Regions from separate parts of the Homo sapiens genome. Here all the other regions are linked to region 1. Evidence: promoter capture Hi-C in human tissues and cell types (Jung and others, 2019). All regions are on one chromosome and are shown on one strand. The core of a region is centred on a gene start or on the middle of the fragment in contact, and the rest is flanking DNA. Distances in the headings are between cores, read along the strand shown. Region 1 holds the start of GPR146 (G protein-coupled receptor 146). Region 2 has its middle 34 kb from the start of MICALL2. Region 3 holds the start of MICALL2 (MICAL like 2).

The links. Contacts are between HindIII fragments. The study calls those that stand out against the background at their distance.
Region 2: a fragment that was not itself captured here is called in contact with the fragment with the promoter of GPR146 in region 1 in 2 of the 25 tissues and cell types used here (lymphoblastoid cells and mesenchymal stem cells).
Region 3: the fragment with the promoter of MICALL2 here is called in contact with the fragment with the promoter of GPR146 in region 1 in 2 of the 25 tissues and cell types used here (heart left ventricle and stomach).

What each region holds. Positions count from the first base shown.
Region 1 is chr7:1,042,820-1,046,024 of GRCh38, reverse strand. It overlaps GPR146 (G protein-coupled receptor 146), which reads right to left and starts at 1,479. Exons shown (of 2, transcript NM_001303473.2): 1 at 1,367-1,479. All of the region lies in intron 2 of CHLSN (cholesin), which reads left to right. RefSeq lists silencers at 980-1,029, 1,210-1,699 and an enhancer at 1,805-2,360. The HindIII fragment of the contact is 12,061 bases long and covers 1-3,205 here.
Region 2 is chr7:1,423,687-1,426,667 of GRCh38, reverse strand. No RefSeq gene overlaps it. Among named protein-coding and RNA genes, the nearest start is that of MICALL2, 34 kb to the left of the region's middle. The HindIII fragment of the contact is 5,123 bases long and covers 1-2,981 here.
Region 3 is chr7:1,458,109-1,461,122 of GRCh38, reverse strand. It overlaps MICALL2 (MICAL like 2), which reads left to right and starts at 1,653. Exons shown (of 17, transcript NM_182924.4): 1 at 1,653-1,939. The coding sequence starts at 1,797. MICALL2-DT (MICALL2 divergent transcript) reads right to left here and starts at 1,204. Exons shown (of 2, transcript XR_001745046.2): 1 at 856-1,204. RefSeq lists enhancers at 1-190, 1-278, 279-830, 2,254-2,976, 2,977-3,014 and a silencer at 1,161-1,880. The HindIII fragment of the contact is 47,250 bases long and covers 1-3,014 here.

The sequences.
Region 1 (3,205 bases), core at 230-2,729:
GCCCTTCTCTCTTCATCAGCCTACTGGGGCTTATGAGTTGCAGGGACTCCAAGTCAACTTTCACATTTACATTCTGCCCTAAATCTGTGTTCCTCTGTCCTCCATCCTCAGGATATGTCCATGCTGGCTAGAGAGGCAGGATGACACGTGGACGCCAGCACGGATGTGTGTGGCGTCGGGCAGTGAGCTGCTCTGGCCCCGACCTCTTCTCTGTGAAAAGGCACAACAGTATTCAATACATATAAACTATGTTCTTAAGTCACTTGTCTTCAGAGGCCTTCTTCATTGAGGAAGACAACAGGGGTTCTGGTTGGGGAGCCAGGCCTTACAGTAGTTCTTGAAGGAGCTGCACAGCAGGTCATGGGTACTGTGAGTGTGCACTTCGTCTAATTATTAACAGTGCCTCCGTTCACTCTCAACGGTGCCCCAGTTAGGACGGTAGACTATCTCATCACCACTATGCGTGAGGAGCCTGGGAACATGGTCAGAACCATTTTACTCATACAAGTTTGCAGAGGCCTTTAAAGCAAGCCTCTTGGCCCTCTGTTATTGAATGCTGGCCTCTGCTAGGTGCTGCAGGTAGCAAAAGATAAAAGATGTCGTGCTGTTCCGTGTGGACAGGAGCTGGCTATTTAAAGTGGAATGGAGGACTCAAGTACATCTTCATGGGCAGGGAAGAGATCAAAGGCTGTGGACGACGAATACAGAATTATCCTCTGGTCCACCACGTAGCATGCATGCAGAGATAAGCCACTGTGACCAGTCACATCAAGATTCATAGACTTATGCCTAATTTAGAGAACTGACTTGCCAGGTTTGTAATACTAACTTAATAGTGGGTTTTCTGCTGCTGGTAGTGGTGGTTTGGCGGCTGGAGAGCACTGCCTTCCAGTGAAGCTTTGAAAGAGCCGTCCCATGCCCTGCCAACTGTCCAAGACAACTGACAGCAGATCCGACACCTCCATGTAGACACAGATCCAAAACTCACTTTAAAATACTAATCACAGAAGGGGCCGAAAGCAGTCACCATAGTGGCCCAGGAGAGCAGGATCAGTGGTGCCCTGTCGGACATGGGAGAGCCGGTGGCGGCGCTGTGCCGCCTACGCCAGCAGCAGATTCAGCTGCCATCACCAGGTTAATGACCGAAAGCCCGCCCCCGGGGCTCAGCTCGGAGCGCGGCCGGAGGACAGCGGTCCCCTCCTGGCAAGGGCACGGAGCCCCGCAGTGGGCAGCGGCCAGAGGACCCGGGTCCCAGTAAGCGCAGCGCCCGCCGTGGGAGCCACAGCAGCTTGGGGCTGGCTCCCTCCCCAGGCGGAGACTGGGGTGTGCCCCACCGACCCGACCCAGGCTCCCGGGCCCCACTCACCGGCTTGCTGGGCGGCGGCCGGCGCAGTCGCCGCCGGGCGGGCAGCTCGGGCTGGCGGAGGCGGCGGGGCTCACGGCGCGCACGCCGCCCGGGCCCTGTGTACACACGTGACCGTCGGCCCCGCCCCCGGCCGGCGAGCGGCAGCCATGCCTGGCCCCGCCCCCAGCCTTGGTCCCGCCCTGGCCTCCGCCCCCCGGCCCCGCCCTCGCGGCTAGACCGCGGGGAACCGCTCGGACCAGTGAGGTTGGGGGGCGGTGGCGGTGGAGGCAGTGCTGGTTGTGTAACCTGAGACCAGCCATTTGACGAACTCGTGCGAGATTCCCTGTGGGAGGACACACACCCAGGGCTCTGGGAGTTTTTGAGAATTCTCTTAGTGCCCAGCGCGGTTTCTTTTTACAGGCGCTGGTGCCTATTTTGCTGAGTCAGAATATACCCTAATCTGCAGGGTGCAGGCCCCACCGCCCTCCAAAGGAAATGAGTGGCTGCAAGTTAGTCCTTCCAGGTACACCTGCCCCTCTTTCTTCACCGAAGTTTGCTTGCTGTTTCCAAAGTCACCAATTACTTCCTGGTTTTAGGATTTTCTTTGTAAACGGAACACTCACAGGAAAGCCGTTTAAAGAAACACATTGCTGCCTGATTACTTTTGTAGCTATTGTTACAAGTTAAACATTGGAAAAGTTGAAACAAGGACATTTACTTTGCTGTAATTTTTGAGGTGAAACAGTCCCCCCTGCAGCACATTCTGGTTCAGGATCTAAGAACATTTCTGAAAATCAAAGCATGTGGGTTGCACAGTTCCGCATAGACTTGCTGTGAGCTGCGGGCCGAGTGGAACACCAGCAGGAAGAATAGCGGCCACTGGCCCTCCGCTGCATGATGCTGTGGCCTACTGTGTTCAGGGATGTACCTCAGCCACCTTCCTGGACAGGACGGCTTCCTGACCGTGGGTCGGAGTGGGACGTCGGGATCAGCTTTCTATTCCAGCGGGAGGGCAGGGAGAGGCTCACCACGGCCCACGCCTGCTGATGTGATACTGACTTGCTGCCCAGCCCGGCACCAGGTCCCTGGCACAGTGGATGCAGCCCGGGCCCTGTGTGCCCAGAGGTGCCGGGTACTGATCTTACTTGCCAAAGTCAGTCACAAGCAGCCAACACCGATACCTGAGGGCGTATTCTGTGTCAGGTTCTGTTCTGAGCCTCAACCATTGTTTTGAGGTAGATACGTCCGTATTTCATCAAACCTAAGACACGATTGATTAGTGTTAGCTATGCCATTACTTTATGGATTACTAAAAAGAAGGCCCTCTGCCCACTGCATTCCGACATACTGCTGATTTTAAGGCGCAGCCTCACATTAGAGATGATAAAGTGAGAGTACGCCTTAGCGTCAATGAGATAGGTCACCATGTGCATTTTAATATTTTTTTTTTTTAAAGACAGAGTTTCTGTCATGTTGCCCAGGCTGGAGTGCAATGACACGATCTTGGCTTACTGCAGCCTCAGCCTCCTGAGTAGCTGGGATTACAGGTGCGTGCCACCATGCCCAGCTAATTTTTTTTTTTTTTTTTGTAGTAGAGATGGGGTTTCACCATGTTGGTCCGGCTGGTCTCGAACTCCTGACCTCAAGTGATCCGCCTGCCTGGGCTTCCCAAAGTGCTGGGATTACAGGTGTGAGCCACTGTGCCCGGCCATGCATTTTAAATTTAATTGTGAAAACTTAAGCAACTTAGCCCAGGTCACACTGCAGGCCGTGGAGCCAGGATTTGAACCCAGGGGTATTCTGGCTTTTTAGATCAGGGTTTGGGACTTTGGGCCCTCCTAGCAGCCCGCCTAAGAGTAA
Region 2 (2,981 bases), core at 474-2,973, 380 kb before region 1:
ACGGCCACATCATTGAAGGTCCAGGTGGGCAGCCTCGGCCGCTGTCAGCGCTCTCCCGGAAATGTTTGTTCATCCTTTCGTCCTTCATTCCATCCTTTTTGTTCCTGAGATGGAGTCTCGCTCTGTCACCCAGGCTGGAGTGCAATGGCACGATCTTGGTTCACTGCAGCCTTCGCCTCCCGAGTTCAAGCGATTCTCCTGCCTCAGCCTCCGGAGTAGCTGGGATTACAGGCGTGCACCACCATGCCCAACTAATTTTTGTATTTTTAGTAGAGATGGGGTTTTGCCATGTTGGTCAGGCTGGTCTCGAACTCCTGACCTCAGGTGATCCACTGGCCTCAGCTTCCCTAAGTGCTGGCATTACAGGTGTGAGCCACCACATCCGGACCCTTTGTTCCGTTCTTTTAATTGAGCATCTCCTCCATGCCAGGCCACCCGCTGGTACCACAGCCCCACACCAGCAAGAGACCCACCAGCTCCTGTCCTCGAGGACCTGGTGGAGGCATAAAGAGAATGGCAGTCCTGGGGGCCGGGGCTCTGCAGGGACGTGGGGCCCTGGGGAGGGTGCTGAGGGGAGGGAGAGGCAGCCTGGTGGGAGGGCTGCGGCTGAGCCAGGCAGGGGCCCTGAGGCCAGGGAGAGTTGCAAGTTCTGGCCAGGCATGGACTCCGTCCGAGTGGAAAGGCTGGGAGAGGTCAGAGGGGCAGGATGGTGGGGTGGGGCCCGGAGGGCGTTAGGTGGAGAGACATGGGACCAGGGTGGTCTTCGACGCCAGCTCTGGCTGTGGGTGTGAGGTCCAGGGGGCAGAAACCAAGGACATATAACCCCCTCGCTGACATCCAGGGCCCACCAGGTGTGGCCTGCTCTATCCTCATTGGCCAGAATATAGTCACATGGCCAGGGCAGGCTGCAAGGGATGCTGGGGAATGTAGTTCCCTCTGGGGCTTGCTGTGGCCGCTAAAAGGGGAGGTGGGGAATGGATATTGGGGATGCATGAGTGATGTCTGGCTGCAGTGACAAAGTACCGAAAATGGGGGGCTTCAAGGAACAGTTAGACTTCTAGAGGCCAGAGTCTGAGATCAAGATGTGGGCAGGAGGCCAGGTGCGGAAGCTCATGCCTGCCATTCCAGCACTCTGGGAGGCCAAGGTAGGAGGATCGCTTGAGCCCAGGAGTTTGAGATGAGTCTGGGCAACATAGTGAGACCCCATTTCTACAAAAATTTTTAAAAATTAGGCCAAGTGTGGTGGCTCACGCCTGTAATCTCAGCACTTTGGGAGGCCGAGGCAGGTGGATCACCTGAGGTCGAGAGTTTGCGACCAACATGGAGAAACCCTGTCTCAACTACCAATACAAAAATTAGCGAAGCATGCTGGCACACACCTGTAATCCCAGCTATTTGGAGACCGAGCTGGGAAAATCGCTTGAACCCGGGAGGCGGAAATGGCAGTGAGCCGAGATCAGGCCACTGCACTCCAGCCTGGGTGACAGAACAAGACTCTGTGTCAAAAAAAAAAAAAAATAAAATAAATAAAATAAAATAAAATTAGCCAGGCATGGTGGCATGCACTTGTAGTCTCAGCTACTCAGGAAGCTGAGGGGGGAGGATTGCTAGAGCCTGGGAGTTTGAGGCTGCAGTCAGTCACGATCGTGCCACTGCACTCCAGCCTGGGCGACACAGTGAGACTCCATCTCAAAAAAAAAGAGAGAGGGTTGAGTTTAGGTTGAAGGTAGCCAATCTGAAAGCTCAAGGCAGGAATTAGGGATTTGCTAAGGGAACCCTTCTTTCTGAAGTCAGAATCTACTGATTAAGGGTTCCATGAGGCAGTGCTTTGCTGTGGTGAGAAAGGCAGTTGTTGTGGTCCAAGCTACAGCTGGTACCAGCAGAGGAAAGAAAATCAAGGGTTCAGCAGAAGAAAGTCTTGGGATTCTAAGTCCGCTGGAAACCTCCCATTAAGAACATAGTATGATTATGTGGCAGACACAGCCCCCAACTTTGCTGGATGCCATCTGGTATTTGGGGTGCTGTGGTGGTACACAGGACTCACGGTGCCACAGCAGCCAGTTTGGGACCATGAGGGATGGTAAGGCCGCCAAGCAGAGACGAGCTGGGCAGAAACAGGGAAGGCTGCTGGGTCTTTGCTGACCTCCTGTTGGTGTCACTGAGCCCTGAATTAGCCAGTCTAGAACCTTCTTATGTGTAGATTTCTTGTTGGGAAGGATAATGAATCCAGGGTCGTGTAAGCCTCTTTGACTTGAATTTCCTGAGAGCCAAGTCAACACCCTATTGGTTTCCATTGATGTCACGCCGACGGGATGTCCTTCAATTCCCCACACCGTCTGCGCTGGGGCCTGGGGGTTGTCCAGCCCCGTCCACTCTCTTGAAGTCAGTGGGGATGCTGAGGCCCAGGAAGCAGAGTTGCCATCCCATCCCCGACCAGGGCAGAGCCACTGGGCCAGCCTCCTGCGCCATGGCCCTCCCCAGGCCTGCACTGGGTCTGGGGCCACCTCCCTGTTGTGGGACCTTTGCAAGACCCCGTTTTCCATGGAAGTGAGGACAACAGTGACAATGACACGCCTCCCCAGGCGTAGCCCCTTCTTCTGACCTTGAGTCAACCAGTCCCCAGGAGGGTGGGCGGGATGGGGCTGGGGAAGGTGAGCTTGACAGCTTCTCCACGTGCTGCTCCTGCCGCCTCTTCCCCCTCACTCCCAGCTCAGTCTGTCTCTCCCTCCCTCTCTGTCTCTGTCTCTCCCTCCCTCTGTCTGTCTCCCTCTCTCCCTCCCTCTCTGTCTCTCCCTCCATCTGTCTCCCTCTCTCCCTCCCTCTCTCTGTCTCCCTCTCTCCCTCCCTCTCTGTCTTTCCCTCCCTTTCTGTCTCTGCCTCTGTCTCTGTCTCTCCCTCCCTCTCTGTCTCTGTCTCTCCCTCCCCTTCTGTCTCTGACTCTGTCTCTGTCTCTCCGTCCCTCTCTCTGTCTCTCCCTCTGT
Region 3 (3,014 bases), core at 404-2,903, 410 kb before region 1:
CCCTGTGTCCCCCATCCCCCACTAATTCCCCCCGCCCACTGCCCCGCTGCTTCTGCTTCTTGATCTCTCCCTTCTTTTCCAGCTCTTCCGGTTCTCCTAACCGTTGCCCTGGGAGTCAAGAAAACCCGGTGCCAGGACCGGCTCCGGCTGTGCTGGCACGATATCCCCTGACATCCGCAGGTCAGGGACTGTGGCGGAGCAGCGGTTAGGGCCAGCCACATTCCCAGGCCACAAGGGCTCCCTGCCTAGCAGCTGCTTGCATGCCCCTGGTGACGGGGAGCTCACCACCTACACACAGGCCTCACTGACACTTAGGCAGCTGGCCATGAACACTACGGTGTCTCACCAGGGACCAGCCTCAGAAAAGATCTGGAACAGCACCATTGGCTGGGGTTGGAAGACCTCAGTTTCTCCTCCTCCCAAGGGGCACAGAGAAGCTGCCCTGACTCCCTGCCAGGGGCTACTGCGGGAAAACACCTTCCTTCCTGCAGGCCCTGCCCAGACAAGCCCTGGCCCCACAGCCAGGAGGGTAGGCCCCCCTCACATGGCTGGTGTCAGTGATTCCGCCCTCGTCCAGCCCCCGTGGCCACAGACAAGGTTCCCCAAGGATAACGGGGCCAGGGGCCAGTCTGGGATAATTTAGGGCCCCAGCAGAGGGACTTTCCTTATTTCTTCTGTCACAGCTCAAAGTGGAAAATTGGAACTACCCTGCAAGTCAGCCTGAGGAATCTCCTGCCCCAGGAACAGATCCTGCCCACAGGCCCCCAGAAGAAAAGCACAGGCCAGCTGTGCAACTCCGGCTCCACGGCCCCCTTCCTGGCCTCAGTTTCTCCTCTGGCAATGCCCAGGCCTCACCTCTGCCTTGCCTGGAACCCCCGCTGGCATGTAGCGGCCTGGAAAGAGAAACCAGATGCGGACGTCCTTTGAAACCCTGAAACACAAGGCGCCTCCTGCTCCCCGGGAGGCCGGGCTGCCGAGGGCTGAGGCCCTAGACAGGGCAGGGTGTTCGAGCCTCAGTGTCCCCGTTTGTCAACGGCCTTTCCTGCCTCTTCTCCATGGCGGTGGGGTGAGATGGTGGTGGGAGGTGGGGCGGCGAAAAAGAAAATTCCAGGTCTCCGCAGGGGTCCAGAATGGCAGGACCCCCAAGCAGACCGCGCCCCTTCACCGGTTGGGGGTCTCGGCCCTCAGCGGCGGGGCGGGGCCTGGGGAGGGGCCAGGCGGCGTGGGGCGGGGCCTGTCGGGCGGGACCTGACAGCGTGGGGGCGGGACTTACCAGGAGGCGGGACGTGCCTAGGGCGCGAGCCCGTACTGGGGCCGGGCGGCGTGGGGCGGGGCCTCTCGGGAGGCAAAACCTGGAGGCTGGGGGCGGGGCCTGTCCGGAGTCGGGGCCTGCCTGGAGCGGGAGCCTGTGCCGGGGCCAGGAGGCGTGGGAACGGGGCCTATCAGGAGGCAGGACCCGGCGGCTGGGGGCGGGGCCTGTCGGGAGGTGGGGCCTGCCTGGGCGGGAGCCTATGCCGGGGCTGGGAGGTGTGAGGACGGGGCCTATCCGGAGGCAGGACTTGGCGGCTGGGGGCGGGGCCTACAAGGAGGCGGGGCCGGCGGGGGCGGGGCCGGGCTCGGCTTCTCTTAGGGACCCGGCACTCGTCGCCCTCAGTCCGGCTCAGCTGGGGCTGGGCGCCGTGGGTCTGGCGGTTCCGTAGCGGTCCCAGCGTCTGTCCCGCCGGCCGGGCGGTCGCGGCACAGCCGCGGGAAGGTGTCGGAGGGCGGTTCCGCCGCGCGGCGGGCGCGCCGCCCACATGGCGGCCATCAGGGCGCTGCAACAGTGGTGCCGGCAGCAGTGCGAGGGCTACCGCGACGTGAATATCTGCAACATGACCACGTCGTTCCGCGACGGCCTGGCTTTCTGCGCCATCCTGCACCGCCACCGGCCCGACCTCATGTAAGTCCTGCCTGGCGCCCTTTGATTCTTCTGCTGTTCGGCTGCGCGCTGACACGGGCGGGGAAACTGAGGCCCGGGCGGCTGGGGGATGGGGAGCCGAGGCGTGGGACTGGGCAGGCACAGCCCACCGTGCAGCCCCCCGAGGCTGTCCTCAGTGGCCTCAGTGTGCCCGGACACCGAATGCAGCTGGGCCAGAGCCATGGCATCCCCCGCCCGCCGGCTGAGTCAGACGTGACTCAGGGCGGCTCCTGGGCCCTGGCTTCAGTCCAGTCCCCCTCTGTGTCCCTGGGAAAGGCCAGCAGAGCTGCCTCTTTGGGCCCTCCGAGGCTCTCACTGCCCAGGGGCCTGGCCACCAGATGGGGTCCCTGGATAGCCCTCGTATGGGCACTGACCCTCCCCCAGCCTGTTCAGGCCCCTGGGGGGATGTGGCCAGGGCCACTGTGGGGGAGCGGCCAGTGCAGGGCAGGAAGCCCCCAGACCCCAGGTGCTGCTGCCAGCCGGGCCTCTGAGGCCCCGGGTGATAGGGCCCGAGATGGAGAACAGCCCCCATCTCTGGGAGCAGCAGGAGGTGGCAGGGGTTGAGGACTAGGCTGTCTCTCCCCAGGAGGGTCTTGGCGTGTGTAGCTGGGCAGCTGGCCCTGCCCGTTGCTGAATCTTGGCCCGAGCCTGGACCTGCTCCATTGTTTATTCACTCAGCAAACGCTCTTTGGCTAAATGACTGGGACCAGGCTTGCTGGGACAGAGATCTGTGTGTCGGGGCTGGGGGCCAGACGCTCAGGAAGGGGGGCCCTCAACGGCCACCTGCAGCCCAGGCACCTTCTGGGCAAAGCGTTCTCCTGAGTGTGTTTTTGGTGGGAAGGTCTCGGGGTTGGGAGGAGCCACAGGCAGCACCTGGGGCCTCTGTCAGGCCGCAGCTGTGCAGACCAGAGAACCGAGGCTAAGAGGAGGGGTCCTTGCTCAGGTCACACAGCCCCAGCCCGTTGCGCAGATCCGGGGCTCCTCCCCTGTGCCCCTGGACACTGTCCTGCCAGTCCCACTCTCTGCAGGAAGCTGGGGTCTTGAGCAACAGCCTCGG